7 separate regions of the Homo sapiens genome follow, and all the other regions are linked to region 1. The links are contacts of gene promoters, found by promoter capture Hi-C in blood cells and fetal thymus (Javierre and others, 2016). All regions are on one chromosome and are shown on one strand. Each heading gives the region's core, a stretch centred on a gene start or on the middle of the fragment in contact. The rest is flanking DNA. Distances are from core to core; before and after follow the strand shown.

What was found. The method cuts DNA at HindIII sites, captures the fragments that hold promoters and counts their contacts. A CHiCAGO score of 5 or more calls a contact.
Region 2: a contact is called between a fragment that was not itself captured here and the fragment with the promoter of TMED8 in region 1, in 1 of 17 cell types (neutrophils). The highest score is 5.1, in neutrophils.
Region 3: a fragment that was not itself captured here is called in contact with the fragment with the promoter of TMED8 in region 1 in 1 of 17 cell types (naive B cells); the score reaches 5.3 in naive B cells.
Region 4: a contact is called between a fragment that was not itself captured here and the fragment with the promoter of TMED8 in region 1, in 1 of 17 cell types (non-activated CD4 T cells). The highest score is 5.7, in non-activated CD4 T cells.
Region 5: a fragment that was not itself captured here is called in contact with the fragment with the promoter of TMED8 in region 1 in 1 of 17 cell types (naive B cells); the score reaches 6.3 in naive B cells.
Region 6: a fragment that was not itself captured here is called in contact with the fragment with the promoter of TMED8 in region 1 in 1 of 17 cell types (naive B cells); the score reaches 7.0 in naive B cells.
Region 7: a fragment that was not itself captured here is called in contact with the fragment with the promoter of TMED8 in region 1 in 1 of 17 cell types (naive B cells); the score reaches 5.5 in naive B cells.

Annotation. Positions count from the first base shown.
Region 1 is chr14:77,375,020-77,379,285 of GRCh38, forward strand. It overlaps TMED8 (transmembrane p24 trafficking protein family member 8), which reads right to left and starts at 2,075. Exons shown (of 6, transcript NM_213601.3): 1 at 1,917-2,075. The coding sequence starts at 2,034. It overlaps SAMD15 (sterile alpha motif domain containing 15), which reads left to right and starts at 2,360. Exons shown (of 3, transcript NM_001010860.4): 1 at 2,360-4,088. The coding sequence starts at 2,400. RefSeq lists a silencer at 1,653-2,082 and an enhancer at 2,133-2,342. The HindIII fragment of the contact is 9,682 bases long and covers 1-4,266 here.
Region 2 is chr14:76,888,094-76,892,359 of GRCh38, forward strand. It overlaps the pseudogene RN7SKP17. Among named protein-coding and RNA genes, the nearest start is that of LRRC74A, 64 kb to the left of the region's middle. The HindIII fragment of the contact is 7,667 bases long and covers 1-4,266 here.
Region 3 is chr14:77,725,702-77,729,967 of GRCh38, forward strand. All of the region lies in intron 10 of SNW1 (SNW domain containing 1), which reads right to left. Among named protein-coding and RNA genes, the nearest start is that of SLIRP, 20 kb to the left of the region's middle. The HindIII fragment of the contact is 4,579 bases long and covers 1-4,195 here.
Region 4 is chr14:77,707,812-77,712,077 of GRCh38, forward strand. SLIRP (SRA stem-loop interacting RNA binding protein) reads left to right here and starts at 292. Exons shown (of 4, transcript NM_031210.6): 1 at 292-397; 2 at 3,027-3,085. The coding sequence starts at 301. It overlaps ALKBH1 (alkB homolog 1, histone H2A dioxygenase), which reads right to left and starts at 212. Exons shown (of 6, transcript NM_006020.3): 1 at 11-212. The coding sequence starts at 193. RefSeq lists an enhancer at 1-175. The HindIII fragment of the contact is 3,055 bases long and covers 452-3,506 here.
Region 5 is chr14:77,690,096-77,694,361 of GRCh38, forward strand. All of the region lies in intron 3 of ALKBH1 (alkB homolog 1, histone H2A dioxygenase), which reads right to left. Among named protein-coding and RNA genes, the nearest start is that of ALKBH1, 16 kb to the right of the region's middle. The HindIII fragment of the contact is 5,830 bases long and covers 1-4,266 here.
Region 6 is chr14:77,108,520-77,112,785 of GRCh38, forward strand. It overlaps CIPC (CLOCK interacting pacemaker), which reads left to right. Exons shown (of 4, transcript NM_033426.3): 3 at 1,293-1,462. Among named protein-coding and RNA genes, the nearest start is that of CIPC, 12 kb to the left of the region's middle. The HindIII fragment of the contact is 6,167 bases long and covers 1-4,266 here.
Region 7 is chr14:77,632,844-77,637,109 of GRCh38, forward strand. No RefSeq gene overlaps it. Among named protein-coding and RNA genes, the nearest start is that of SPTLC2, 18 kb to the left of the region's middle. The HindIII fragment of the contact is 7,970 bases long and covers 1-4,266 here.

The DNA of each region.
Region 1 (4,266 bases), core at 825-3,324:
CTCAGCTGTAGTTTGTTCCTCTGTAAAATGGGAAGAAAATGATTGTTGACATGACTAAATCAGAAAATATAAATTTTTTTCCACCTCTGGCACAGAATAAGCATTCAATATCTGTAGGTTATCATTACTATTATTTTATTAGCAACAAATCCTACCTCAAGAGGAAGAGCTTGCTCTGGGCTACTATAATAAACCCCTACATGACATTAAAAAAAAAAATTATCACCCTGCATTCTGAGGGTAAGAGGAAGGAAAGTAAGCATCTCTACCAATGTCCTGGGAGGAAGTGAATGCAGGAATGAATTAGATGTCAGGGGGAAAAAAAAACACACTCATCTATCTAAAACGCGTGGGTACGTTTGCCATAAACACATGAGAACCTAAAGGGGAAGTAAAAACATGCTTAATTTGTAAATACTGGCGCATGCAAGGGACAAGTGTTATAAGACTTACCTTTCTGTGTTTACTTGCTTAGTCTTTTAGACATTATGCTTAGAATTTCTACTGCTATGTTAAATATATGCCAACGATTTTTAATTTAATACAAAGCAGAGTTCGTAAGAAAAAAAGGCAAAATTTGTCAGGTGTTTTAAAGTAAAAGAATATAAAATCATGGGAAAGAGCTGGGTGAGTTGTGTGTGTGTTTGAATAAGGCAGCATTATGAGAGGGAAGATACTTGGGATCAGAGTAGAAGACAGAAAAAGGCACCATGTTGGAAGCCATACATCCAAGAACACCTCTGGCGGCACAGGAAGTTCAACTGAACAAAAAGAGACCTTACTGTCACAATGGTTGAGACGAGTATAGTGTGTACCATGGACTATACCCCAAATGCCTTAGACAAAGCAGCTCAAGTAATCCTCACAATAATCCTATGAGGCAGATATTTTTAGTAATCACATTTTACAGATGAGGAAACTGACGTTTCAGACTCCAATCCAGGCACCCTGGCTCCACAGTAGTGCCTCAACCATTATACTTTATGGTGTCTATTTTAATTTCAGACCTAGAAAATTAATTTATATTTGCTACTTAAATAAGACAAGTTCTCTCCCCTCTACCCTTTCGTATTTCAAAAGAGCATCCTTTCAGTTGCATCGTGTGTGGTGTTCAGGAGGCTGAAAGAAGAAAGTGTGATGGATGGACTCTTTTGTCTTTGGACACTGAAATAATACACACGGAGGAACTCGCGTTAGTAGAAATGGAGACGTCGTCCTGGACAAGAAGAGGATGAGGGTCTTGAGAATGAGGGAGGTAGGCCAAATTTTTAATTCCTGCTCTTGCTTTGGCTACTGTGTTCAAGCAAAAGACCCCAGACACTACCTATTTCAACTCTGCTTTTCATTTTTCCCACTCTAAGCGATGGAGAGGATGGCAGCAAGGCCAGGGGGCCTATGTGCAGGAAGGCTAGGGCGCAGTGGGCTTCTGGCAGAGGAAGGCAAGGCTGCCAACCCGGGTGGGGGCCGAGAGGCGCGTGGTAAGGCTGGGGCAGGGGACTGAGATGGGGATAGGGTGGGGAGCCAGAAGCAGGGGGCGGCGAGGCCAGTAGGGTTCGGGTCGGCAGTCTAGATGTGATTAGCAGACGGAGGTGGGACCCGAACCCCGGCTGAAGCTGAAACTGAAGCTGAAGAGGCGCCAGGGGCAGAGCCACCCTGTCACTACCATTTGGGCAGATCTCAGAAAGGAAGCGGGGCAGGAATCAAGGCATTTCGAAACAGGAGTGAGTAGAAAATAACCTCGAGCCCAGGGCCCGGGTGGTGGCAGCGGCGGGGAAGGGGCCCCGCGCGCGAAGGGGCTGCCGAGGTGGGTCCGCTCCGCGGGGAAGCCCAGGACAGAGCGCGGCGGAGGCTCGCGCCGTGGTGCGGGGCCCTGAGGCCGGGCGGCACCCACCCGCCAGCGCCCCGGCCTTGCGTACCTGAGGCGGCCGCCTGGCTCCCCTCCACTCCCTGGCAGTCCCCGACGCCGCCAGCCGACCCTGGGCGGGCTGTGGGGCTCCAGGAGCCCGGCCCCTCAGCCGCCTGCAGGTCAGACATCTGCAGCCCGCGCACGGAGCTCTCCGCTGCCAGCCGCGAGTGGCTCCGGAAACAGCCGAAGGCCGAGCGAGCGCCGAGCACAGCCGAGCGCAGCCTGCAGGCCGGAAGAAGCGGCGCGGCGGCCGCTTGAAAAGCTAGCTGACCCAGGGGCGGCCACAGGAGCTCTGGCCCGCTGAGGCTGGCGATGAGGCCGCAGGGAGGGTTACTGCGTGCTTGTGACAGACGATTTTTAAAGTCAGGGCTTGAAAGAACAAACAAAACCTGGGGAAGAGTCAGGAAGACACTGCCGGAAATCGTGGTATCCATAGAGACGCTATCGGAAGTTGGGGTTGCTAGGAAGCCGCGGCGCGTCTGCTAAGCTGCAAATGGCTGAAGTCCCGGAGGATTATGATTCCGGCCCAGATGAAGATGGAGAGCTGGAGCCTGAGAGGCCTGAACTGCCTGGACTTCATAAATTGTATGAAAATGCCGAACCAGACACCATGGCAAAGGCAGACTCGAAGCTACCAGCAGAGATTTACCAAGAGCCACAGCCAGAGACCGAGGAAGAGGACTTCAAAGAGGGGGAGCCAGACAGTGCTAAGAACGTGCAGCTGAAACCTGGCGGGACGTCCCAGGAAGGAATTGCCAAGGAGTCCAAGAGAGACGTACCAAGCGAAACTGAACCAGGGATACACCAAGAGGTAAAGTCGGAAACATCCAGAGAGATGGGAGAGTTTTTCAAAGATTTGGAGGCCCCTATGGATGAAACGCATAAAGAGTCAGACCTAGAGCCACCAGAGGAGGCTAAACCAAATGTTACAGAGGATGTGTTCCTAGAGTCAGCTATGGAAACAGATCCAGATCCAGTGCCACCAACGGAAACCATGTCTGAGGTTTCGGGGGCCACAGTCAGAGAGAGAAATTTAGAATTACTAGAGGAGGAGACTGAACCGGGGGTTCCAGAGGAATCACTTAGAGTGCAACATGAAGAGACAGGTCTAGAGCCTCCAGAGCAGACCAAACAAGATTTTCCAAGTGAGAAACTAGGAGAATCACTTGAAGAGACAGATCTTCAGCCACCAAAGATGACCAAACCAGAGACTCCAGAGGAGACACAAAGAGAGTCAACTGAGAAGAAAAGGACAGAGCCACCCGAGCAGGCTAGACTGGAATTTCTGGAGAAGGAACCAAGAAAGTCTAGTGAGGAGGCAGGTCTAGAGCCTCCAGAAGAGACTCAACCAGAGGTTCCAGAGGAGATGCAAAGAAAGGCAACTGAGGAGAAAGGGACAGAACTACCTGAGCGGACTAAACCAGACTTTCCAGACCACAAGCCAAGAAAGTCTACTGATGAGAACGTTCCTGAGCCACTAGAAGAGATCAAATTAGAGTTTCCTGAGGAAGAATCAAGAAAAACAAATGAGGAAACAATTCTAGAACAATCAGAAATGATGAAACCAGAAAGTCCAGAAGAGATAAGAAAGTCAAATGAGAAAAAAAATCCACAGCCACCAGAGGAGACTGGTCCAGTGCTACCACAGGAGATCAACCCACAAGTTGAAGAGAAAACACAAACAAAGCCAACTGAGAAAATTCTAGAGTTACCAGATGAAACCAAACCAAGGGAGACACATGTAGAATTTTCCAAGGAAGACAGGCCAGAACCAATAAAGTCTAAGTATTCTGTAGGAAACGATGAGCTAGAGCACCGTGAGCCTAAAAGAGGAAAGTTGTCACTAAGTGACAAATTTAGAAAAGAATATTACGCATTAGGATCTCTCAGAGAAAGTGAAGAATCAATTGGTACACATTATGAGTTTTTGCAACCACTCCAAAAATTGCTTAATGTCAGTGAAGAATGCTCATACTCAGATCCCTCAGAGTCTCAGACAGAATTAAGTGAGTTCGTTCATGAAAAGGAAGTTGTAGATTTGTCCCAAGAGTTGAAGGAACGGGTCTCTGAAGATGACGAAACCCAGCCAGAAAAAGGGACTGAGTTACAATTTGAGCATCTTAATTGGGATCCAGAGGAAGTTGCAGAGTGGATTAGCCAGCTAGGCTTCCCTCAATACAAGGTATACAAAAATAAGATGTTTTGAAATCACATGCTGTCATCCGTCTACTTCTTATTCCTTCTAACTTGGCCTGAGCTCTTACCTCTTTACCGGAAGGAGTATCAAAAAGTCCTAGACTGTGGTAGAGGTAACTTGGATTTTAATTTTGGCCTTGCCACTGATGTATATTTGTATTTTG
Region 2 (4,266 bases), core at 1,221-3,720, 490 kb before region 1:
TTGGGGCTCCTGATGGGAAGGTGAGGGCAGGAGGACTGAGCTTGTCCTTCACTCAGGGAACAGGGTAGAAGCCAGAAGTTCCCTCTCTGCCAGCACCCTAGAAGACCCCTACTCATTTCCCAGCGCTGGGGGAGGGGCTGCTTCCTACCCCTCAAACCTTTTCCCCGCTAGCTGCGACAGATGCCAGCTCCACCACGTTGGTCATGCCCACTCCGGCCCCACCCTCATCTACGCTTGGACTTTGGGAACATCTAGTACCTGTGCTCACTGGGGGCCTCCCAAGCTGAGGACTGGCAGGGCTGAACCTGGGACTGGGGTTGGGAAGAGGAAGGTAGACAAGGAGGAGCAGGGAGCAGTTCAGAGCCAGAAGCGGTTCTGCACAGCTCTGCACAGCTCGGCGGGAAGAGCTGGCTCGAACAGGGCTCTGGCTAGGTAGACAGAGGGTCTGAGTCTATGCAGCTGTGAACAGTCCAGGATTGAAGGGGGAAGGGACACAGAAGGGAGGAGAGCACAAGCTCCAGGCCCCATGGCTCAGAGACTATCAGGCATTTGCCCTGGGCCAGCCTGAAGGTATAGGGGACAGCAGGTTTTGTTGCACTTGGAAACGAAGCTCAGTAGCAAGGAAACATGGGAATATACACATGTACACTCATGTACGCACATAGGTACACACACAGGTACACACCTGTTTGGAGGATGAGGATGGAATCACAGGATTCTGTCAAAAACTTCAGAGCTCACCTGGCCCAGCGCCCTCATTCTATAGGTAAAGAAACTCAGACCCATAAAGGACAATGTATCCAATGTTACACCGCCTGTTGGTGATAGGACTCGAACCCAGAGCCCCTAATTGCCCCCAAAATGGTCTTTCCTCAACACTGAGGCAATGGGTCTGGCCAGAGGTGATATTCACAAATTTTAACAACCTGCACAGCAACACAGCCCCAGCAATCAGAATGGACATTCCAACTGCGTTAGGATCCCGGAGGTCCGCTGAGATGCTCTTTTACTTGCTGGATTCAGAAGAAGTCTTGGGGTCCCAAGGAAAGCAGGCTAGGATGATGAAAGAGTATTCAAGGGGCTCAGGGATGGCTGTTTGCTAACTAGAATGAAAGTATTTCAATACATTAACAACACTGTATTGGTTGGCTGTCAGCCCTAGAGCCAGGAATCTCCTCGCCAGGGGAGCCGAAGGAAAGAGACCCATCCTTCTCCTTTATTATTATTATTATTTTTTTATTTTTTATTTTTGAGACGGAGTCTCTCTCTGTCACCCAGGCTGCAGTGGTGCAATCTTGGCTCACTGCAAGCTCTGCCTCCCGGGTTCACGCCATTCTCTTGCCCTGTGTGCTAAGCAAAAGAGTTAGGACTTAATCTTGAAAGTCATGGGTAGCCACAGAAGGATTCTAGAAGGAAAATTATTTGATCAGGTTTTCATTTTCTCTTTTTCTTTCGTTCTCTCTCTCTCTCTCTCTCTCTCTCTCTCTCTCTTTCTTTAGCTCACTGTAACCCAGAATTCCTGGGCTCAATTGATCTTCCCACCTCAGCCTCCCGAGTAGCTGGGACCACAGGCACCTTGCTAACAGATTTTTATTTTAGAAAGATTACTTTGGCCAGGCACGGTGGCTCATGCCTGTAATCCCAGGACTTTGGGAGGCCGAGGTGGGTGGATCACCTAAGGTCAGGAGTTTGAGACCAGCCTGACCGACATGGAGAAACCCTGTCTCTACTAAAAATACAAAAAAATTAGCCAGGGGTGGTGGCATGTGCCTGTAACCCCAGCTACTCGGGAGGCTGAGGCAGGAGAATCGCTTGAACCCAGGAGGCGGAGATGCAGTGAGCCGAGATTGTGGCACTGCACTCCAGCTTGGGTGACAGAGTGAGACTTTGTCTCAAAAAAAAAAAAAAAAAAGAAAAAGAAAAAGAAAAAGAAAGATTACTTTGGCAGTGATATGAAGGGTAATTTGGAAAGTGGTATATTAGTTATCTATTGCTACATAGTGTATTATCTCAAAACTTAGCAGCTTAAAACAATGAATATTTACTATTTCACATGGTTTCTGAAAGTTAGGAATCTGGCAGCAGCTTGGTTGTCATTCAGGGCTTCCTACGAGGTTGCAGACAAGCTGTCTAAAGGCTTGACTCGGCCAGCAGATGTGCTTCTAAAATGGCCCACTTCGATCCGGCTATGATATCTGTCACACCATTGATTGCCAGGGTTGATTCAGCTGATCTGGATGGTGCGGCAGGTGTCCCCTTCCTCTCTCACTGCTCCACATATGTCCTTCCCGAAGCTGTGCGCTAGGTTGAAGAGGACGACCTTCCCCGATAGAGGGCTGTTCTTTGGTCAAGGGTATGTGAGTGGCTGTGCTCCCCTGCTAGAACCTCCAAACATGGCCCACTCATCTGCCATTCACAGAAGGCCTCAGTTCCTCACCCCATGGGCCTCTCCATGGTGCTGCTTGCAACATGGCAACGAACATTGGAGCCAGTGATCCAAGAGGGAACATGGGGGAAGTCCCAGTGCTATATGACCCAATCACATACAATCACTTCTGCCATATTCAATCTGTTAGAAGTGAGTCAGTAAGTCTAGCCTCCACTCAAGGAAAGAGGAATGAACCTCCATCTTTGGGAGGGAAACCTGTTGAAGTTCTGCAGATATATTTTAAAACTGCAGGCCAGGTGTGGGGCTCACGCCTGTAATCCCAGCACTTTGGGAGGCCGAGGTGGGTGGATCTCCTGAGGTGAGGAGTTTGAGACCAGTCTGACTAACATGGTGAAACCCTGTCTCTACTAAAAACACAAAAATTAGCTGGGCATGGTGGCACATGCCTGTAATCCCAGCTACTTGGGAGGCTGAGGCAGGAGAATCACTTGAACGCGGGAAGTGGAGTTTGCAGTGAGCCGAGATCACGCCATTGCACTCCAGCCTGGGCAACAAGAGCAAAACTGTCTCAAACAAACAAACAAACAAAAAAACCCTGCAAGGTGGTTAACTAGCCCATAGGCAGAGAGACCAGTTAGATTACAGGAGTGTACCAGGAGAGAAATGTAATGGTCTGAACCAAGACAGGAGCACTGGAATGGAGAGGAGGGGCATCTTGAAAAGTTGTTACTAGAGAGATGGCTTATGGGGTGCAGGGAACTGTGATAGGCCAGGGCCAATTGGCAGGAGCAGCCTTTGGAGCACACGCCCTTGGAGGCAATACCCCAGACATCCAAGGTCAGTCTGAACTGCCTCCACCTGCAGACAGAAGGGTGGTGGGCAATGCTTGACCAACAGGCCCCCGAAAATCTTGGATTATGGTAGGTTTCTGCAGCAGCTTGGGGGTGGAGCCAGCACTAATCAGACTGGAACTTCCTGGACCCCAGTGGTGAGAGCCTCCAGAATAAGATTAGGATGAAAACAGCTCCCCCCTAAACCACACAGAACACAGGAACTGCTGGTAGACAATCATAACGGCAAAGCAACACATTCTGAGTCAATATGTCAATGACAATAGCTTCACCAAACATTCTGGATGTGGCAAGTATCTGTGTTCACTCACTCAACAAAGATTTGCTGAATGTCACCATGTCCCAGGCATTCTGCCAAGCCCTGAAGAGAAAACCTAAGATTTTTTTTCTAATTTTATTTATTTATTTTTTAGTTATTTTTATTTTTATTTTAATGGAGACAGGGATCTTGCTAATGTTGACCACTCTGGTCTCAAACTCTTGGCCTCAAGCAATCCTCCTACCTCAGACTCCTAAGGTGCTAGGATTATAGGCATCACAGTGCCAGGCAAAACTAGGATTTTTTTTTTTTTTTTTTGAGACAGAGTCTTGCTCTGTGCCCAGGCTGGAGTGCAGTGGCGTGATCTCAGCTCGCTGTAACCTCTGCCTCCTGGGTTCAAGCAATTCTCCTGCCTCAGCCTCCCCAGTAGCTGGGATTACAGGAATGCACCACCACGCCGAGCTAATTTTGTTTTTTTAACGGACTTTTGCTCTTCTTGCCCAGGCTGGAGTGCAATGGTGCAATTTCAGCTCACTGCAACCTCCGCCTCCCAGGTTCAAGCGTTTCTCCTGCCTCAGCTTCCCGAGTAGCTGGGATTACGGGTGCAAGCCACCACATCCAGCTAATTTTGTATTTTTAGTAGAGATGGGGTTTTACCATGTTGGCCAGGTTGGTCTTGAACTCCTGACCTCCAGTAATCCACCCCCCCTCAGCCTCCCAAAGTGCTGGGATTATAGGCGTAATTTTTGTATTTTTAACACAGATGG
Region 3 (4,266 bases), core at 656-3,155, 350 kb after region 1:
GAGGCCAGGAGGTTGAGACCACCCTGGGTGTAATGGCAAAACCCTGTCTCTAAAATAACACAAAAATTAGCCAGGCGTGGTGGTGCGTGCCTTAGTCCCAGTTACTTGGGAGGCCAAGGTGGGAGGATAGCTTGAGTCTGAGAGGCGGAGGTTGCAGTGAGCTAAGATTACACCACTGCACTCCAGGCTGGATGACAGAGTGAGACGTTGTCTCCAAACAATCAAAAATTCCATGCATTTATAGCCGATCCATTTATTTCTGGGTTCTCTATTCTGTTCCACTGGTCTATGTGTCTGTTTTTATGGCAGTACCATGCTGCTTTGGTTACTATAGCCTTGTAGTATATTTTGAAGCCAGGCAGTGTGATGCCTCCAGTTTTTTTTCTTTTTATTCAGGATTGCTTTGGTTATTTGGGGTCTTTTGTGGTTCCATACAAATTTTAGTATTGTTTTTTCTATTTCTTTGAAGAATGTCATTGGTATTTTGATAGGGATTGCATTGTGTCTAGAGCTAGCTTTGGGTAGTATGAACATTTTAACAATAATAATTTTTCCAATTCATGAGCATGGGCTATCTTTCCATTTTTAGAGTGTCTTCTACAATTTCTGTTTTTAAAATTTAATTTTTTTTCTTTTAAAAAGAGATAGGGTCTTACTGTGTTGCCCAGGGTGGTCTTGAACACCTGACCTCAAGTAATCCTTCTGCCTTGGCCTCCCAAAGTGTTGGGATTACAGGTGTGAGCCACCATGCCCAGCCTCTTCAATTACTTTCATCAGTCTTTTATCATTTTCTTTGTGGCGATCTTTCACTTCTTTGGTTAAGTTTATTCCTAGGAGGCTATGTGCAGTGACTCATGCCTGTAATACCAGCACTTTGGGAGGCTGAGGCAGGCAGATCACCTGAGGTCTGAGACCAGCCTGGCCAACGTGGTGAAACCCCATCTCTCCTAAAAATAAAAAAAATTAGCCAGGCGTGGTGGTGTGCGCCTGTTGTCCTAGCTACTCAGGAGGCGGAGACACAAGGATTGCTTGAGCCTGGGAAGCGGAGGTTGCAGTGTGCTGAGATCATGCCACTGCACTCCAGCCTGGGTGACAAGAGTGAGACTCCGTCTCAAAAAAAAAAAACCTTTATTCCTAGGTAGTTTTTGGTAGCTATTATAAATGGGACTGCCTTCTTGTTTTTCAGCTTGGGTATCCTATTTGTATATAGAAATGCTACAGATTTTTGTATGTTGGTTTTGTATCTTGTAATGTTACTGAATTCGTTTATCAGTTTTAAGTTTTTTGGTGGCATCATTAGGTTTTTCTAAATATAGGATCATACTGTCTCTGACAAAGTATAATTTGATGTCTTGTTTTTTTTTGTTTTTGAGATGAAGTCTTGCTTTGTTGCCCAGGCTGGAGTGCAGTGGCATGATCTCAGCTCGCTGTAACCTCTGCCTCCTGGGCTCAAGCAATTCTTGTGACTCAGCGTCCTGAGTAGCTGGGATTACAGGTGAACGCCATCATACCCAGCTAATTTTTGTATTTTTAGTACAGACGGGGTTTCATCATGTTGGCCAGGCTGGTCTTGAACTCCTGACCTCAAGTGATTGCCCATCTCAGCCTCCCAAAGTGCTGGGATTACAGGTGTGAGCCACTGTGCCTGGCCTTCCTTTCCAATCTGGATGCCCTTTATTTCTTTCTATTGCCTAAATTTCTCTGGCAAGGACTTCCAGTCCCATGTTGAGTTACAGTGGTGAAAGTGGGCATCCTTGCCTTCTTCCAGATCTCTGAGTAAAGACTTCCAATGTTTCTCCATTCAGTATGTCAGCTGTGGGTTTGTCATATATGGCCTTAAGTATTTTTAGTTATGTTCCTTCTAAGCCCACTTTGTTGAGAGTTTTTATCATGAAGGGATGTTGAATTTTTTCAAATGCTTTTTCAGTTTCTACTGAAATGATGCTATGGTTCTTATTCTTGGTTCTATTAATGTGATGTATCACATTTACTGATTTGCATATACTGAACCATCTTTGCATCCTTGGGATGAAGGATAGTTCAGTTGATTATGATGAATGATATTTTTTAATGTGTTGAAATCTGTTTGTTAGAATTTTGTTAAGGATTTTTGCATCTAAGATTATCAGGGATGTTAGCCTGTGGTTTTCTTTTTTGTTGTATATTTGTCTAGTTTTGGTGTCAGTATACTAATGACCTTGTAGAATGAATTTGGAAGCATTCCCTTCTCTTCAATTTTTTGGAATAGTCTGAGTAGAACTGGTATTTAGTTCTTTAAATGTTTGGAAAAATTCGGCAGTGAAGCTGTCAAATCCTGAGCTTTTCTTTCATGGGAGCAATGTTAATTGTTAAAAAAAAAAAAAAAATTAGTGTAGAATCTAGGTGGTAGGAGATACGGGTGTTCATCATATAATTCTTTCAGCTTTTCTGTATGTTTGAAAATGTTCATAATAAAATGTCAGGAAAGGCTGGGTGTGGTGGCTCATGCCTGTAATCCCAGCACTTTGAGAGGCTGAGGCAGGTGGATCACCTGAGGTCAGGAGTTTGAGACCAGCCTGGCCAATATGGTAAAACCCCATCTCTACTAATAATACAAAAAATTAGCTGGGCATGGTGATGGGCACCTTTAATCCCAGCTACTTGGAAGGCTTAGGCAGGAGAATTGCTTGAACCCAGGAGGCGGAGGTTGCAGTCAGCTGAGATTGCATCATTACACTTCAGCCTGGGCAACAAGAGCGAAACTCCGTTTCAAAAAAACCAAATAATAATAATAATAAAAAAGTCAGAAAAAAGGAATTATGCATAATGTTTCCCTTATATTTTCAAAGATTCTATTGAATAAAGAACTGTCAGCTTATTTCCCTTAGGGGCTGGCTGGATCTTGATTTCCACTGCATTTATATCTATCTTCATTTTTTTCTACCCTCGCCAGTCTGAGGGAATGGAGTACAGTTAAGAGCATAAGATTTGGAGCAAGCCTGTCTGGATTCAAATCCTGTTTCTATAGCCAATTAACCATGTGACCTGCGCAGATTACTTAATACTATAAGCCTTAGTTTCCTCCTCTGTAAAACAGTCACAATAATAGTATCACTACATAGGGTTATCCCAGGGATTATGAGATAATGCAAATAAAGTACTCAGAGTGGTGCCCACCATAAGAAGCACCTGATAAATGTTAGTTTTTACTACTATCTGGCAAGAGATTCATTAAAATTTTTAATTTCTTGAGAACGATTCTGTTGTCTTTTTCTTATTAGTTTAGAGAACTCAAATGCAGTAAGTTTTACTTCTAATTATCTTCTATGGTTAGGTATACAACCAGGCAGGTATTTATATCTCACCTTATTAAGTCATTCATATATAACTGAGGGAAGTGGATCACTACTTAAAACCCTGGTTATTTCCCTATGGTTGAACTCTAGACTCTTGTAACCAATTACCTGGCACCTCCATCTTAAACTTAACATATCCTTAACTATAATAAATTCTTCATCTTTCCCTCCCAAACCTGTTCCTCCTGCAGTCTTCCCAATATTAGTAAATAAAAGTAATATTTACTTTTATCCTGAGCAATTGGCAATTTAATCCTTCCCAACTGCTTAGGATAAAAGTTCTGGAGTCATCCTTAACTCCTACTTTTTTTCGTATCTCCACCTAATCCACAAACAAATTTTGTCAACTCTACTACCAAAATACATCCAATATGGGACCATGTTTTTGTTACCTCTTGTTACTATCTCTCTTACAGTTTATTTGGAAGGCATTAGCCCATGCCCATTCCACAGTATTCTATTTTTAACACAGCAGCCAGGGAGGTCTTTTAAAAATATATGTTAGGGGAAATGGTCATATGGTACAAAGTCTCATTTATGCAGGATGAGTAAGTTCTGGAGATCTAATATACTGTATGTTAACTATAGTTAACAGTACTGCATTGTATATTTGAAATTTGCCAAGAGAGTAGATCTTAAGTGTTCTCACCAAAAAATTTAAAAAGTAACTATAAGAGATGACTGGTAAGTTAATTAGCTTGGCAGTAGTGAATATTTCACAGTGTATATTAAAACATCATGTTGTATGTTTTATACAATTTTTATTTGCCAATTGTACCTCAATAAAGCTGGAAAACAGTATGTCAGGTCATTACTCTGCTCAAAACCCTGCAATTGCTTCCCTTTTCACTTGTAGTAAAAGCTTTATCTTTAGGTTAAAGGGCCATACATGATCTGGCCACTACTCTTCCCACCTGCCCTAACTATTCTG
Region 4 (4,266 bases), core at 729-3,228, 330 kb after region 1:
CTCTCTGTACCTTTTGGGCACCAGGACCCTTGCCACGGGCTGCGTGGGCCGCCGAGAAGTCGATGACCCCTTCCAGGTCTGCGGTCCCGGGCCGGCTCTGACGGTAGAAGCGGAAAAGTTTCCGAAAGGCGTCCTCCCCGGGCTCAGTCGCCAGAGTCGCCACAGAGCCCACGGCCGCTGCCATCTTCCCCATCTCGCGGCCTATACCCTCTGATCCGGAAGCAGATTCTCTCGTGTTCCGGATCCGGAAATTTTTTCCGGGGCCGCGACCTCGGCTCGAGAAGGTGCTTTAGTCTGAAGATGGCGGCCTCAGCAGCGAGAGGTGCTGCGGCGCTGCGTAGAAGTATCAATCAGCCGGTTGCTTTTGTGAGAAGAATTCCTTGGACTGCGGCGTCGAGTGAGTGATGGAGATGTGGGAGTAGTGGAATTTTTAGGTCCAAGTGATCCTCAAAGCTTCTGCTTTTTGCAGGGTACTTAAGTCAGCGTGGTGGCTGAATTAGGAGACTGCTCCTGAGCATGCAAGTGAGCAGAAAGAAATTTTGTTTGCAGTTAACCGTTTAGGGATGTCCCTTGAGCTTTTGGGGTCACGAATGCACCGGCTCTTGCCTTTAGGAGTGATTTGGTGTAAAGATTTATTACTTGGTAACCAAGATTTACAATTTAGAAGGGATAATTTTGACTGTAGTGTGGAGGATGGATTCAAGGTGGCAAGATTGTAGGCGTGCAGAGGAGCTAAAAGGCAATTTCATTAATTTACTTAAAACGTGAGGACCTGAATTAGGGCGATGGTAGAAGGATGGTGGTCAGATGCATTAATGTTTTAAAAGCAAATTAGATGCCGTTTCGTGATGGCTTAAGTGGGAGAAGTGTACGGAATAAAGGAAAGGGAGAAATGATTTCTGGGTTTTTAGCATTGGTGAATTGTTTGTTTAGAAGTTAGGAGCAGGCCAAGAGAAGATGAGTAAAGTTTGAATGTGTTGACTTTGAGAAACTTGTGAGGTTTCCGTCAGGCAATTGGACAAAGGTTGTATATCATTGTGGCTGAGAAGTGGACTCCGAAGCTAGACCGTTGGGGTTAGAATTCCAACTTGGCCATTTAATCGTTGTTATCACTTGAATAACTGAAGTTAGTATGGGAAAAGGGCTCACAACTGGGCCTCAGTTTACTCATCGATAAAATGGAGTCAATAATACCCAACTCATAGGATTGTTGAGAGGATTGAGTTTATATGCAAACTTCTTAGACTTGTGTTAGATACAGTGTAAGTACTCAGCAAATGATAGTTATTTTCACGGTAACTAAAATTGAAACTTACGGGAGAGGCCTAGTCTACAGATAAAGGTTGGAATAATTAGTTCTGAAATCTTTCACCACCTTCAATTTTTGTCAGCTGCAGTTTTGAGATGAGGTTTTTATATTTGCTTACCAACATGTAAACATTCGTGGTCACTCTTTTTGTAGATATTCATGTTTCAGGTCAACCCCTGGAAACAAAATGGAGCAAGATTTAGTTTCTTCTAAGTTTTTAGTGGCTCAGATGTGAGTAGTAGAATGGGAAATAGGTTGGTTTGTGCCCCGTGTTTTAAACATGTGGTTGGTGAAGACCAAGCCCAGTAAAGTCTCCCGTAGTCCCTGTGAAACTTTATGGAAAGGCTGAGGAGTTTCATTAGCATCTTGCGGATGCAAGTTTCCAGACAATAAAGGGCTAGTTTAAAACCCTTAAAAAGAGTCAGCATTATGTACAGCTTCGAAACAGTTTCTCTTTGTTGTTCCATTGATTCAGCAAATATTTATTTGAGTATCTATTCTGTGGTAGGCATTGTTCTTGGTGCTTGCAGCTGTTTTTCCTTCACCATTTTAGGCAATTTAGGAAGAGGGTTACCTTCCAGAGCTGGTTTGTTTTGAAATCAGTGTCTTCTAGGACTTTAATTATCTGGTATAAAACATATGTTTAACATTATTTTGTTCTCCAGTATCATATTCTGTGAGACCTTGATCTTGCCAGTTGGTTTGACTTAACCATTAGAGCCCTTCAAAATTTAGTCTCTGTGGATTGTTGGAAGGATTAGTGGACTTTTACTTATTCATTTAGCCAATATTGAGGCCCTGCTGTTTATTGGTCACTGTAAACATAGTGGTTTATATGCTGAGGGAGCTTACAATTAGTGGTGGGGATGAAGAGACTTAGAACAAATATAGGCAATTGTTGAACCAGTGAGGTTTTGGTGAACTAGGAGAACTAAATAGATATTATAAAAAGTAAATCAGTGAAGTACAAGCACTGTAGTTCAGAAGAGAAACAGATCGTGTAGTTTTTAGTCTTTAAGATTATATACTCTAAATCTTTGAAGTCTCACAGGGCTGGTACATTGTCTTGTACTGTGATAGGAGCCCAATAAAGTAATACTCAGTGGATGTACTTGGTTTGGGTCTTGAAGGATAGTTATAGTGTTACAAGTTAGCCAGGGGGAGATAGGATTACCAACATATGGAGGGGAGAGAACAACATATGCAAAGAGGGTAACCCGCAGGACAGATAAAGATAATTCAATTAGTTGTACTAGAGAGTAACTAGGGGCTAGCAGTGGGAAATAAGGCAGGAAGGGTAGGTGAGGGCAACTCAACACATTTTACTAAATTGTGAAAGACCAGTAAGTTGGGATTTTATTTGGAAATCTTCAGTATACCGGGAAACACACTGGATTGTAATTTGTCTTTTTCTTCATTGTGATCTGCTCACAGGGATCATAGTCCACATAGCACAGTAACTGGTATGAAAACACTCGATATTTGCTGAGGATGGAGACTGCAGCCAACTCAACAACTTCTCTGTCCATCTCACCACCAAGTCTGGTACATTATGGCTTTATAGTCAGTACCATAGCTGCTTCCTAAATCTTAAGCCTTTAAGGAAATGCAAAGTAGTTCCTGTCCACAAGAAATCTGGTGACCCTGTCTTTCTACAGTCTAAGATAGAGAATCCAAAATATAGTAACTACTTTTAATGTTTTCTTCTGCCACACAGGTCAGCTGAAAGAACACTTTGCACAGTTCGGCCATGTCAGAAGGTGCATTTTACCTTTTGTAAGTATTAAGGAAAAGTAGGTGGGAGGTGGGGATGGCTAATGGGTACAAAAAAAATAGAATGAATAAGACCTATTTGATAGTACAACAGGGTGACTATGGTCAATAATAATTGTACATTTTAAAATAACTCAGAGTGTAATTGGATTATTTGTAACTCAAAGGATAAATGCCTGAGGGGATGGATACCCCATAAGTCAAAGGATAAATGCTTGAGGGGATAGATACCCCATGCTCCATGATGTGCTTAATTTACATTGCATGCCTATATCAAAACATCTCATGTACTCCATAATAAATATACATATTTATATATATAAATATATAAATATATACACCTAATAATATATAAATATATATAAATATATACCCAAATAAATATATACACCTACTATACACTCACAAAAATTGTTGAAAAAAAAGCTTAAAGTGTTTTAAAAAATTCTTATCTTGCAACAGGGTCTCGCTCTGTCCCCCTGCAGGGGTGCAGTGGCCTGATCTCACTGCAGCCTCTGCCTCCCAGGCTTAAGTGATCTTCCTGCCTTGGCCTCCTGAGTAGCTGGGACTATAGACATGTGCCACCATGCCCAGCTAACTTTTTTGGTATTTTTTAGTGGAGACAGGGTTTCGCCATACTGTCCAGACTGGAAAATTTTTTTAATTTTCATTTTCTTTAAGAGACAGGGTCTTGTTCTGTCACCCCAGGTGGAGTGCAGTGATGCAGTCATGGCTCACTGCAACCTCTGCCTCCCAGGCTTAGGTGATCCTCCCACCTCAGCCTCCTGAGTAGCTGGGACTACAGGCATGCACCACCACACCTGGGTAATTTTTGTATTTTTTGTAGAGATGGGGTTTCGCCATGTTGCTTATGCTGGTCTCGTCGAACTCCTGGGCTCAAGCTATCCGCACACCTCGGCCTCCCAAAATGTTGAGATTACAGGTGTGAGCCACTGTGCTGGCTTATTTTTGTGGAGATGGGGGTCTTGCCATGTTGCCCAGGCTGATCTTGAACTCCTGGCTTCAAGCAATCCTCCTGCATTGGCCTCCCAAAGTGCTGGGATTACAGGCGTGAGCCACTGTGCCCGGCCTACAGTCTTTATTGATTACATTTTGAGTGATACTTGATTAAAAAGTGAAAAAGCTTTATCATAGGTATTTGTGTTAGTTTTTTTATTGTTGTA
Region 5 (4,266 bases), core at 1,323-3,822, 320 kb after region 1:
TGATATTAGAACAAAGACTTACAAGAAGCAAGACACTGTTGATCTAAGGGAAGAGCTTCCTAGGTAGAACAGCCTGTACAAAAAAAAAAATCTTGAGCATGCCTAGTGTGTTTAAGGATAGCACTGGAGGTCAATGTGGCAGAAAAGAACAAATGAAAAGGAAATGAGGTAGGAATGGTAGGAAATGAGAGTAGAGAGGTAGCTGTGGGCCAGGTCATATTGGCCTTACAGCCATGGTTAAGAATTCTGGATTTTTTCTAAATGTGATGATGTTATGCAACAAAGAATTTGACTGGTCTTTGTCCCTGGCTCCTGGCAGGGAACTTCTAAACCCTTGAAATTTCCTGAGTGATAAAGTGTCACTGTTAATCAAGGTGGGCCCTTGGAACCACACCTGAGTTTGTGCTATGAAGGGAGGCTGGTTAGGAGGCTACTGCAGTGCTCTAGATAAGAAATGATGGCAGCTTAGACCAAGGCAGTTGTGATGGAGATGGTGAGAAATGACTGAATTTATTCTGGCTTTGAAGTCTGGAATATATACTAGAGGGTTGCATTTAAAGTTTTTTTAATCCTTGCACAGCAGCTGCATTCTATGTCTGGGATATGTCACGTTAGATTTACCTGGTCGCCTGTTGATGAACTCTTAGGCTGTTTTGCATTTTTTTTTTCTGTTACAAACAATGTCACAATGAAGATGTTTACACATAACTCTTTTTTTTTTTTGAGACGGAGTTTCACTCTTGTTGCCCAGGCTGGAGTGCAATGGCGTGATCTCGGCTCACCGCAACCTCCGCCTCCCGGGTTCAAGTGATTCTCCGGCCTCTGCCTCCTGAGTAGCTGGGATTATAGGCATGCGCCACCATGCCCGGCTAATTTTGTATTTTTAGTAGAGACGGGGTTTCACCATGTTGGTCAGGCTGGTCTCGAACTCCTGACCTCAGATGATCTGTCCAACTCGGCCTCCCAAAGTGCTGGGATTACAGGCATGAGCCACCGTGCCCGGCCTGCACATAACTCTTGTACACTTTTACAACAATCTCTAGCTACGCCATTCACTTTGGAAAAAAAAGAACAGAATTGAGGTACTCTAATTTTTTGAACAGTCCTTAAGTTCAAGTATTTTTTTTTAAATAATTTTTGTTTTTGCTTAAGTTCAAGTATTTCTTCTTCATTTCCTATTTAAAGTTTTTTCTTCCCTGACTATAGAATTCTAGAAAATTAAAACCAAAAGGATCTTAGAGGTCCTTTACTTCAGTGGTTCTCAATGTCAGAGGATGTTATGATACCTAATCAAAATCTCCAGGGGAACTGTTTTGAACTCAACAGACTCTCTCCTGTTCTGAGAGACTCTGGCAAAGTTGGGAGAGCTGCCAGGTACTGTCCACATGACCCTGACTGCCCATGATTCAATTACCTTGAATGGCTTATCCAGTCCAATACCTTCATTTCTTACATGAGGAAACTGAAGCACGTATCACATAGTGATACAATGAAAACTTGGCCTTAATCGATTTTCAGTGCTGCCAGTACAATGTCTTGAGCATATCAATTTCTTCCAACCCTTGACAACATAAGGTACGACCATCAAATTTTTTATTTCTGCTAATTTATTAGACCAAAAAAAAGGTATCTCACCATTGTTTACAGGATGATTTATTACAGAGATTCATCTGAGCTATCTTAAAAGACAGCTGGGATTTCTGCAGAGTCATATATCAGAAGGAAAAAAAATTACTTGAAAACACAGGCTGGTTTAATAGCAGTAGGTTCTCTTGGACTAATTTTACTTAACCACGATCTTCCTTTCCCCTGCTCTCAGTTGCGAAGAAGACACTACTAAAAGCTCATGGACAGGATTTTCCTCACTGCTCCTGTTGATACCATAACCTATAGACCAAGGTTTAAAAAAAACCACTGAATTTTACTTTTCCTTTCCCCTTAAGAAAATCTTCTCTTTACTCTGTTAGAATCGGCATGACAGTTTCTGAAAACTACAAAATTAAGGCCACGTAACACCAAACGGGACACAAAGTTGGTAAAATGGTTTTAACAGGCACTTTAAAGGACTTCTCACGTATTATCTTGTTTAATCCTCATACTATTCAATAAGGAAAGAACTGTTATGAGACACAGAAAGGTGAAGGAACTTGCTCAAGGTTACACAGCTATTAAGTGGTGGAGCTGGGATCTGAACACAGTCAGTCTGACTCCAGAACTAGTGCTCTACATTAGTGGTTCCCAACCTTTTTGGCACTGGGGACCAGTTTCATGGAAGAGAATTTGTCCATGGATGGAGTGGGGATGGGGGGTGGTTTGGGGATGAAAACTGTTCCATCTCAGATGAACAGGCATTAGATTCTCAATAAGGAGTGCGCAACCTAGATCCCTTGCATGTACAGTTCACAACAGGGTTCGCGCTCCTATGAGAATCTAATGCTGCTGCTGATCTGACAGGGGGCGAAGCTCAGGTGGTAATGCTTGGCTGTCTAGGTCTGCTGCCCCATGATTGGGGACCCCCCTGCTCTACATCACTAAAACCTTTACCATCTGGCCCAAATCCACCTCTCCTCCTTCATGTTTTACCAATTCCACCTACTCATGGCTTCCAGGAAGCATTTTCTATAATCTACCTCCAGCCTAGCTACTTAAGTGACCATTCCCATTATATCTTATAATGTCTGTCCCTGCACCTACCAAATTGTATTTATTTATTTATTTATTTATTTAATTTATTTATTTTTAGAGACAGTCTCTCCTCAGCCTGCCGAGTAGCTAGGACTACAGGCACACACCACTATGCCCAGCTAATTAAAAAAAAAAATTTTTTTGGGGCCGGGAAGTGCCTTACACCTGTAATCCCAGCACTTTGGGAGGCCGAGGTGGGCAGATCACCTGAGGTCGGGAGTTCAAGACCAGCCTGAACAACATGGAGAAACCCCTACCTCTACTAAAAATACAAAATTAGCCGGGTGTGGTGGCGCTTGCCTGTAATCCCAGCTACTCTGGAGGCTGAGGCAGGAGAATTGCTTGAACCCGGGAGGTGGAGGTTGCAGTGGGCCAAGATCATGCCATTGCACTCCAGCCTGGGCAACAAGAGCGAAACTCCGTCTCAAAAAAAAAAAAAAAAAATTTTTTTTCATAGAGATGGGGTCTTGCTATGTTGCCCAGGCTGGTAACTCCAGGCCTCAAGTGTTCTTCTCACCTTGGCCTCCCAAAGTGTTGAGATTACAGGCATGAGCCACCAAGCCCAGACCCAAATTGTATCTAATTATCTGTTTGTAGGTTTTTGAACATAACTAAAGTACAAATTTCTTGAAGACAGGAACTGTTTTTTATCTGCCTTTGAATCTCTAACACTAAAGCACAGTGTCTGACACATAGCAGAAACTCAATAGATAACAACTGAATAAACGTAAGAAAGTACACATCCTATGCTCTTGTCTCGCAGGACGATTTATTCTGTCTTAAATATTGTATCTTTGCTCAGGCTGCTTTCTCTACTCAGTAGAGACTTTTTACTTTTCTGACTGGTAAACCCCTACTCATTTTTGAAGATTAGTTCAAATGGACAGTGAAAGGAGGATAACCCAATAAAAAAATCATTTTTTCAGGCCGGGCTTGGTGGCTCACGCCTGTAGTCTCAGCACTTTGGGAATCTGAGGCAGGGGGATCACTTGAGGTCAGGAATTGAGACCAGCCTGGCCAACATGGCGAAACCCCATCTCTACTAAAAATACAAAAATTGGTGGGGCGTGGTGGTGGATGCCTGTAATCCCAGCTACTCAGGAGACTGAGGCAGGAGAATCGTTTTAATCCAGGAGGCAGAGGTTGCAGTGAGCTGAGATCGCGCCACTGCACTCCAGCCTGGGTGACAGAGTGAGACTCTGTCTCAAAAAACAAAAAACAAACAAACAAAAAATCATTTTTTCTTCGTTCACACTTCTACCCTGCCTGGAATAATTATTTCCTCCTCTATGCTCCCACAGTATTTTTCTAAACCGCATCATAACACTTTCTGAGCTCTACAGTAATTATTCTCATAGGTAATGCATTCTTGCCAGAGACTATGCACTACTGAGTGCAGGGAGGGTGCCTTTATCTTTCTGTGTCCAACGCCTAGCATCATGCCTGACACACTACTGACCCTCATTAAGTATTTGTGGAATGAATGAATGAATGTTGAAGCATGAAGGTGAAAATATTAGTTATTCTCATCAGGAACAACTGACCTATCATAAAACGGCTAGTACCACTGAATCCATCTAG
Region 6 (4,266 bases), core at 508-3,007, 270 kb before region 1:
TGTCTTTAATAAAAATACAAAATCAGCCAGGCGTGATGGTGCATTCCTGTAATCCCAGCTGCTCGGGAGGCTGAGGCAGGAGAACCGCTTGAACCCGGGAGGCAGAGGTTGTGGTGAGCTAAGATCATGCCATTGCACTACAGCCTGGGCAACAAGAGCGAAACTCTGTCTCAAAAAAAAAAAGGGGGTGATCTTCTAATTTTACCATTCTTTGTACGTCATTAGCTGACATTCTTCTGTAAAAAGTGCTTTCCCTCCTCCCTCTTCTTTTGAGTATCACTAATGTAGTCATGGAATTCTTTTGTAATTCAGTTTGTCAACCTGTTAAAATCATCATTTCTGATACTCAAATTGTCTCAAATTTGACCAGCAGGAGTCCCCTCAAGATAGCTCTTGTGTCTCGTTGACATGTCTCTGTTAGTGTTTGAGCACTTCTTTGCTTTCTGGGACAAGCAGCTGTCCAGGCTCATCTCGTATCTTCCCTGTCAAAGTCTTGGAATCAGCTGTTTCTCCAAGGACCCCTCATTTCCTTTATGTGCAGAATGGCATTTAGAAACCAAGATCTGGGCACTCAATATGTACATTGCTTCTGGGCTCATTTGTTTTCAGTCTAATGGTTCTTAACTAGAGGTGTACATTTGGATTACTTGTGTTTTGTGAAATACACCTACCATGGAACCAGGTAAATCACTTCAGTAGATCAAGGGAAGGATCCCAACATTTATGGTTTTTTAAAAGTATCACTGGAGATTCTAAATCATATTTCCATTGATGTATATCCTTCCAGTCATACAGTCTTCCTTAAGCTGGAGAAAATGCAATTGTTTTGAGGTTTACAGATTGGTTTTGTTTTTTTAATTGTAATTACATCTTGTGGTACCCAGAGCCTCTGAAGGTCTTAATCCTACCTTGGGCCATACTCGTCTCCTTTCTCAACATAGATTCTCGAAAGTAATAAACTAACTTTGAAACCTTGAACTCATTTCTCCTGTAGACTGATGATGATTACTTTCATGTGAGCCCTAATTGAGGCAGGTTTTTGTCTGTAAGAGAGTTAGAAAGGAAGTCAAACTCGTCCTAGGGCAATAATTCTTAATCTTTGGTGGAGGAGGGATTAATTATAGATCCCATTGAAAAGCCAATGAAAGCTAAAAGCCTCCTTCTCAATAAAATTCACAAAAACACATCACAAGTGTTGCATTCAATTTCAAGAGGTCTGTAGCTCCTTAGGAGCCTGGTTAAGAGCCCCTAGTCTAGAGCCTGAGTGAGTTGACCATTCTTCTGCCCACCAGATGGGAGCTCGGAATGTCTGAGCTCTGCAGAGCAGATGGAGTCCGAGGACATGCTGAGCGCCTTAGGCTGGAGCAGAGAAGACAGGCCGAGGCAGAACTCCAAAACTGCAAAGAATGCCTTCCCTACCCTGTCTCCCATGGTCGTCATGAAGAATGTGCTTGTCAAACAGGTGAGGAGGACTAATATCACCTAAAGTCTTTGCAAATAAAAATCTCTTAGCTTCCGTGTATAAAGGAAGAGATTTATATTCTCTGCCAAGGAGAGATTTTAGAAACAGACCATTAGAACCACACCAATGTGTACTTTCTGTCCTGGGGAGCGGATGTTATCTTTCAAGTGTGACACTGTTTTAAAAAGGAATATAAGAATCATGACATGCGTTCTCATTTTTCAGACAGTTAGGTTGTTTTATTTCTGTATTCATAGTTTGTCCAAAGAGACCCTGAAATGTATATAAAGGAACCAAGCAGAAATGGCATCACTTCAATGGTGCATTCTAACATATGGCAGAGTTTAGGGTAGAAACAAAAGATGCTCTTTTTAATATGGATTGCCCTGGGAATTTAGGAATGTAGAATGCATTTATCTCAGAAGTAGAGGCAATTTCCCTGTTTCTTATGTCATATACTGAGCATTTTCTTAGTAGTCAGCCAGAGCCTGTCATTAGTGACGAAGCTGCTCCTGGTTCAAGTATGGGAATACCAGCAGAATCCACACAGTGTTGTGGAGTGGAAACACATCCTGTTTGGGGCTTTATTACATAACTATGTTTATTATATGATTATTGTTTAGATATGAAAGAAAAGATTTAGATGAAAATCTAAGTTAAGCTCTAGTGTTTGAAACTGAGAACTTGATCATATGAACTTGGTTAAGTTAGAATAGAGAAGTCTGAGAATAGAAAAGATTGATTTCAGCCAAAGAAATTTAATCTTACCGTACTTTCCTCTGAAAATATATCAGTTTTCATATGGGTCCATTGATGAGGCTACTTGAAGATAGTGAAATTTTAAATCTGGCTTGAGTAGTTGACTTTTCCCCCCTTAGGGTAAAAGGTGAGAACATGGCTTTAACTTGACAGGAAATCTTAATGTCTTAGCTATTACCTAGTTGTATATGAGGAACACAAACTGATTTTCAACAAGGCAGACTGGTGAGTTCTGAAAAGGAATTTGAAGATTTTTGCTTGGTAAATCACATCTCAGCTGGAAGCATGGCTCTCCTTATTGAAAGGAAAAGAAAGAATAGAGACAGGAAACGGAGCCCACATGAGATTGCTCCGGCCCCACCAGTGCTGCCAGTGCTTCTCCTGGGCTTCCTTTCTCCCAGTTCTTTTTCTCCCTGCCTTCCTCTCTGGCTTCCTTGTCCCTTTCTTGTGTCTGTGTTTATATCCCTTCTTTGTTGTAGGCTAGGCTGGCAGCTCCAGAAGGCTGAGAACAGCCCACACACACAGTTACGGAGTGAGTAGGCTTTTCCAGCAGAGCCACATTCTTTAAGACAAAGACCCGCCAGAAAAGCTGCTGGGCCTGATCAGGAGCTAAGAGACTTGGGGACAAGCTGACCTAAGGGAGTAGTCTAGGAGTTTTGTTTCGTTTTTTAAAAACATACTAGAATCTAGCGTATTCTAAAATTAAAATAATGATACACATTTAAAACTCTGCATGTTGTGTAATGTCTTGATTATGGCTGCTTGGTTTTAGATATTTTTCTTTTGAGAGTCTGATTCCACCTCTGTCATTAGACAGTGTGATCTTGTACATAATTAACCACAATGGATATCAGTTTCTTCATCTTTAATATGAAGGGTTTATGTGAAATGATTCTGAGATCCTGTCCAAGTCTAAAATTTTGTTCTGTATTCCCTCAGGTGATTTCCACATGAATAATACAATTTGTAAAATCTAATAATTGGAACAAGTCAGCTAAGTATCTGTTAGGAGAGTGGGCATAACAGTAGCATTAGGAAGTACAGTCCAGTAAAATCATGGGAAAACAATGCATTAGATATTTTCCAGATCCATTTGCCTTGTAGGTCATCCCTAGAGAGGGCATGAAGTTTTGCTTCTGACTGAGCTGGAACAGGCTGATTTCTACTTCAAAAGACCTCTTGATTTTGGATCTCCTATGACAAGGAAATATGGTTTCTGGCCCTAGCATTGCTTGCCTTAGTATATTCCGGAGTATATTTGAACATCAAGAGGACTCTAGATCGTTCCAGCCTTTGCATGGGAAATGAACTGGCCTAAAGTTCCTAACCTTGCATCCAAGAAACTGAAATGTGTGCAAAATGGTGCGCGCATGTACATGTATGGGAAGACAGTTCGTAATGTTCTTCAGATAAATCAAATGACCCCACCTGACCCCACTGATGATGTGAAACTCTGTCAGGCTTGCCCTCTGCCTGGCTTTATCTATACTCAGATTTTGGGGACCAGGTTGGAACTGGATTGGCTTTCAAACATTGGAGACAAGTAGCCATGTCCTTCTTTATTAGATTTCGTCTGAATCAATACTTTAATTAAAAAATAATGTATAATTGAGGAGTAATAAACAAAGGCAGTATAGCAGAATGGCTCAGATGGGTTTTAGAGTCAGACAGAGGATGGAATCCTAACTGCATCACTTAGTAACTTGATGACTTAAAACAAGTTTTTTCGACTTTCTAAGCCTCAGTTCCCTGTTTATGAAGGGAAATGGTAACTGCCTCATGGGGTTTTAAATAGATTAAGTAACTCATGTAAAACATTACACATAGTGGTAACCTATAATCAGCACCAATACATGGTAGCTGTTATTATTTTGAATGGTTTTATGATTGTTGGATGTCACTGCCTTAAAAACAGGAACCCATAGACTCCTGACAATATGGGTTTTTTTCTTTTCTTTCTGTTTTTTTTTGTTGTTGTTGTTGTTTTTGAAACCAAGTCTTGCTCTGTCACTCAGGCTGGAGTGCAGTGGCGCAATCTCAGCTTA
Region 7 (4,266 bases), core at 1,012-3,511, 260 kb after region 1:
TTCTTAATAAAACCTCATAGACAAATCTATCCAATCTTAATTCATTTAACCATAGGTAAGATTCTCATAAAACTTTTATGACCCTTTATAGTTTTCTGTTAAAGAGCAGAACAATGCTCTAAGAAAACTATGTTATGCTTTTATTCCAATGTTCAATTTATGGATAAACTGAATAATATACCCCTTTAATTTTAGCCAATATGTTCACATACAGATTAATCTTTTGCAATCCTTCCACAATTTGCTCAAACCTTTGGCTTTATTTCAACTTAAAACTATCCTTTAACCCTCTAAACGAAGCAAAAAAAATTCACATTCTCATGCCTTCTCTTTTTTGTATTACTTATTTTGTTTTGTTTTGTTTTGCTTTTTTGAGGCAGGGTCTTGCTCTGTTGCCCAGGCTGGAGTGCAGTGGCATGATCTCAGCTCACTACAACCTCCGCTTCCCAAGTTCAAGTGATTCTCCTTCCTCAGCCCCCCGAGTAGCTGGAATTAAGGGTGTGTGCCACCATGCCTGGCTAATTCTTTGTATTTTTAGTAGAGATGAGGTTTCACCACGTTGCCCAGCTTGGTCTTGAACTCCTGACCTCAAGTAATCCACCTGCCTTGGCCTCTCAAAAGTCTAGGATTACATGCATGAGCCACTGCACCTGGCTTTCATGCCTTCTTGTAATCTTTTACCAAAAGCACATTCTACTTTTCTTATACACCTTGCATGGAAAACTGTTTTCTCCAGTAGTCTCAAGTGAATGTTACACAGTTAACTCTTTTTTTTTTCTTTTATTTTTGAGACAGAGTCTCACTCCATCACCCAAGCTGGAGTGTCATGGCATGATCTCAGCTGATTGCAACCTCTACCTCCCAGGTTCAAGCGATTCTCCTGCCTCAGTCTCCTGAGTAGCTGGGGCTACAGGTGCATGCCACCAGGCCCAGCTAATTTTTGTATTTTTAGTAGAGACAGGGTTTCACCATATTGGCCTACACTGTTAACTCCTAGCAACATTTACTTTTTATGAAAAACCTGGTAAGAAAACAATTCTAATTATGTACTAGCTTTGGAGTCTAGGACACTAGACGGAAGTGCAGATAAGGTCTGACTTTTTCCAGCATAGTTAGGGGGCATGACTAACTCTGTATGTGCCCAGGCCTTACCTAGAATTTAATGGCTTTTTTTTTTTTTGAGATGGAGTCTCACACTGTCACCCAGGCTGGAGTGCAGTGGCACGATCTCGGCTCACTGCAACCTCTGCCTCCCAGGCTCAAGTGATTCTCCTGCCTCAGCCTCCCAAGTAGCTGGGATTACAGGTGCCCACGACCACACTCACTTAATTTTTTGTATTTTTAGTAGAGACGGGGTTTCACTATGTTGGCCAGGCTGGTCTCAAACTCCTGACCTCGTGATCCATCCACCTCAGCCTCCAAAGGGCTGGGATTACAGACATGAGCCACTTCACCTGGCCAAATTTAATGGCTTTAAAGAAGGCAAGTTGTAAATTCCTTTCACGAATCTTTTCACAACTTATACAGACCATCTATGACATGGTTGGACTTTCTGACTTGTCCTAAATGTCTGTCTTTTTAAACAACCAGTTATTTTATTTTAGGACAAGAATTTACCATACAAGATCCTTTTTCATACAAAGTCTCTTTTCTTGTAACACTCTTTACCAAAAATACCTCTTTACCTTTATAACTTTTGAATTAGACAAAAGTTATTTTCTTTCTGTTAGGAAGTTATGGTTTGTTGCTGTGCAAGTCCTGTAAAATGGGAGCAGATAAAGAGGTTACCTATATATGGTAGAAGTTATCCCCCACTAAAGTGATTGCTCAGTTAGATTTCTTGTTCAGGCTTGTTTGAGTAAGTGTGGGCTATTTTTTTTTTTTTTGAGATGGAGTCTCGCTTTGTCGCCCAGGCTGGAGTGCAGTGGCGCCATCTTGGCTCACTGCAAGCTCCGCCTCCCGGGTTCACGCCATTCTCCTGCCTCAGCCTCCTGAGTAGCTGGGACTACAGGCGCCCACCACCATGTCCGGCTAATTTTTTTGTATTTTTAGTAGAGATGGGGTTTCACCGTGTTAGTCAGGATGGTCCCGATCTCCTGACCTCGTGATCTGCCCGCTTCAGCCTCCCACAGTGCTGGGATTACAGGCATGAGCCACCACGCCCAGCCAGTGTGGCCTATTTTTAAACCCCTAAGGTAGGACTGACCAGGTTAAAGTTATTGGTTAAAGATTTAGGTAGCTTTTCCATGAAACACAGGGCTATTAGAGAGAAAGATGAATTCAGACGTTGGGTAAATATTAAGCAGGCACCCATCTTGCTCCAAGTAAATGTGAATCTTTTCTTTTAGGGGGTGGGTGCCATTTGTCGCCATTACCCAATAGAATTTGGAGAGTCACTCAGAGAAGGAGGTTAGCATAGAGTAGGCAGCTCTTTTAAGGGGTGGCCTGCCCCTCCACACCTGTGGGCATTTCTCGTCAGGTGGAACGAGAAACTGAGAAAAGAAAGAGACACAGAGACAAAGTATAGAGAAAGAAAAGTGGGCCCAGGGGAACGGCACTCAGCATACGGAGGACCCACGCTGGCACTGGTCTCTGAGTTCCCTCAGTATTTATTGATCATTATCTCTACTATCTCGGAGAGGGAGATGTGGCAGGACAATAGGGTAATAGTGGGGAGAGGGTCAGCAGGAAAACATGTGAACAAATGTCTCTGTATCATAAACAAGGTAAAGAAAAATGTGCTGTGCTTTGATGCGCACATACATAAACATCTCAATGCATTAAAAAGCAGTATTGCTGCCAGCATGTCTCACCTCTAGCCCTAAGGCAGTTTTCTCCTATCTTGGTAGATGGAATATATAATCGGGCTTTACACCAAGACATTCCATTGCCCAGGGACGAGCAGGAGACGGATGCCTTCCTCTTACCTCAACTGCAAAGAGGCCTTCCTCTTTTACGAATCCTCCTCAGCACAGACCCTTTACAGGTGTCGGGCTAGGGGACGGTCAGGTCTTTTCCTTCCCATGAGGCCATATTTCAGACTATCACATGGGGAGAAACCTTGGACAATACCTGGCTTTCCTAGGCAGAGGTCCCTGCGGCCTTCCGCAGTGTTTTGTGTCCCTGGGTACTTGAGATTAGGGAGTGGTGATGACTTTTAACAAGCATGCTCTCTTCAAGCGTTTGTTTAACAAAGCACATCCTGCACAGCCCTAAATCCATTAAACCTTGGGTCCACACAGCACATGTTTCTGTGAGCACAGGGTTGGGGGTTGGGTTACAGATTAACAGCATCTCAAGGCAGCAGAGTTTTTCTTAGTACAGAACAAAATGGAGTCTCTTATGTCTACTTCTTTCTACATAGGCACAGTAACAGTCTGATCGCTCTTTCTTTTCCCCACACTCTTGAATGCAAAAGGGAAATTTGTAATTTCACTTGCCACCTCTGGAGTTTCCCTTGGCTTTCTCCTATTGAAGACAATGTCTGATTTGTTCCTAGAAGTGTTCTTAGAGAAAGGTCATATACCAGTTAAATTCTACCATTTTGCCTCTGGGCATATGTGGGCACATGCTTGAGCCCACTCACCCAACTCCCAAGGTCTTATTGGGAAGCTGATGAACACCAGTTTCAGGTGTTGCTATCTATCCAGAGACTACCTTTCCCTGGGCTGGCTCTGACCGATTATTATTTTAGAGAGACAGTTAACAACTGCCTGACCAACATCTGATGGTCTCCTGACACTCCTGGTTGGTGGAGGCCCTCTCCTGCCCCACTCATGTCTGACCAATTACCTACTGTAACAACCATAGATATGAACCAATTGAGAAATAAGACATAGGCTTTAATTACATCTAAAAAAGAGAGAGAAATAAGACAAAAGGGTCAGCATATGCAGAACTAAAGTGCACGGCTGAATTCATGGGCGTGGGACCTGTGTGAGTTGCATAGGGCCCTGCACTTGGTTTAATGCTCTGTTGTTGCCATCTTGAAATTCTTGGTAATTTTTATTTTGCACTGGATTCCACAAATTAAGTGCAGACAAAAATGTCACCTGATAAAATGTCATCTTTATTATGGATATAAGTGGTCTGGGAGAATGTGGCTTGAGTGTGAGGTTAATTTCTGATCTCCAGACTAGACCTTGATGAAGCACACCTAAAAGAAAATTTGAAACCCAACAAGTACATATGCTGCTCTCCCACTTGTCCTGGTAGAAAAGAAATAAGAGACCAGATCCTCCAAGCCAGGACCATTGATAGATCATT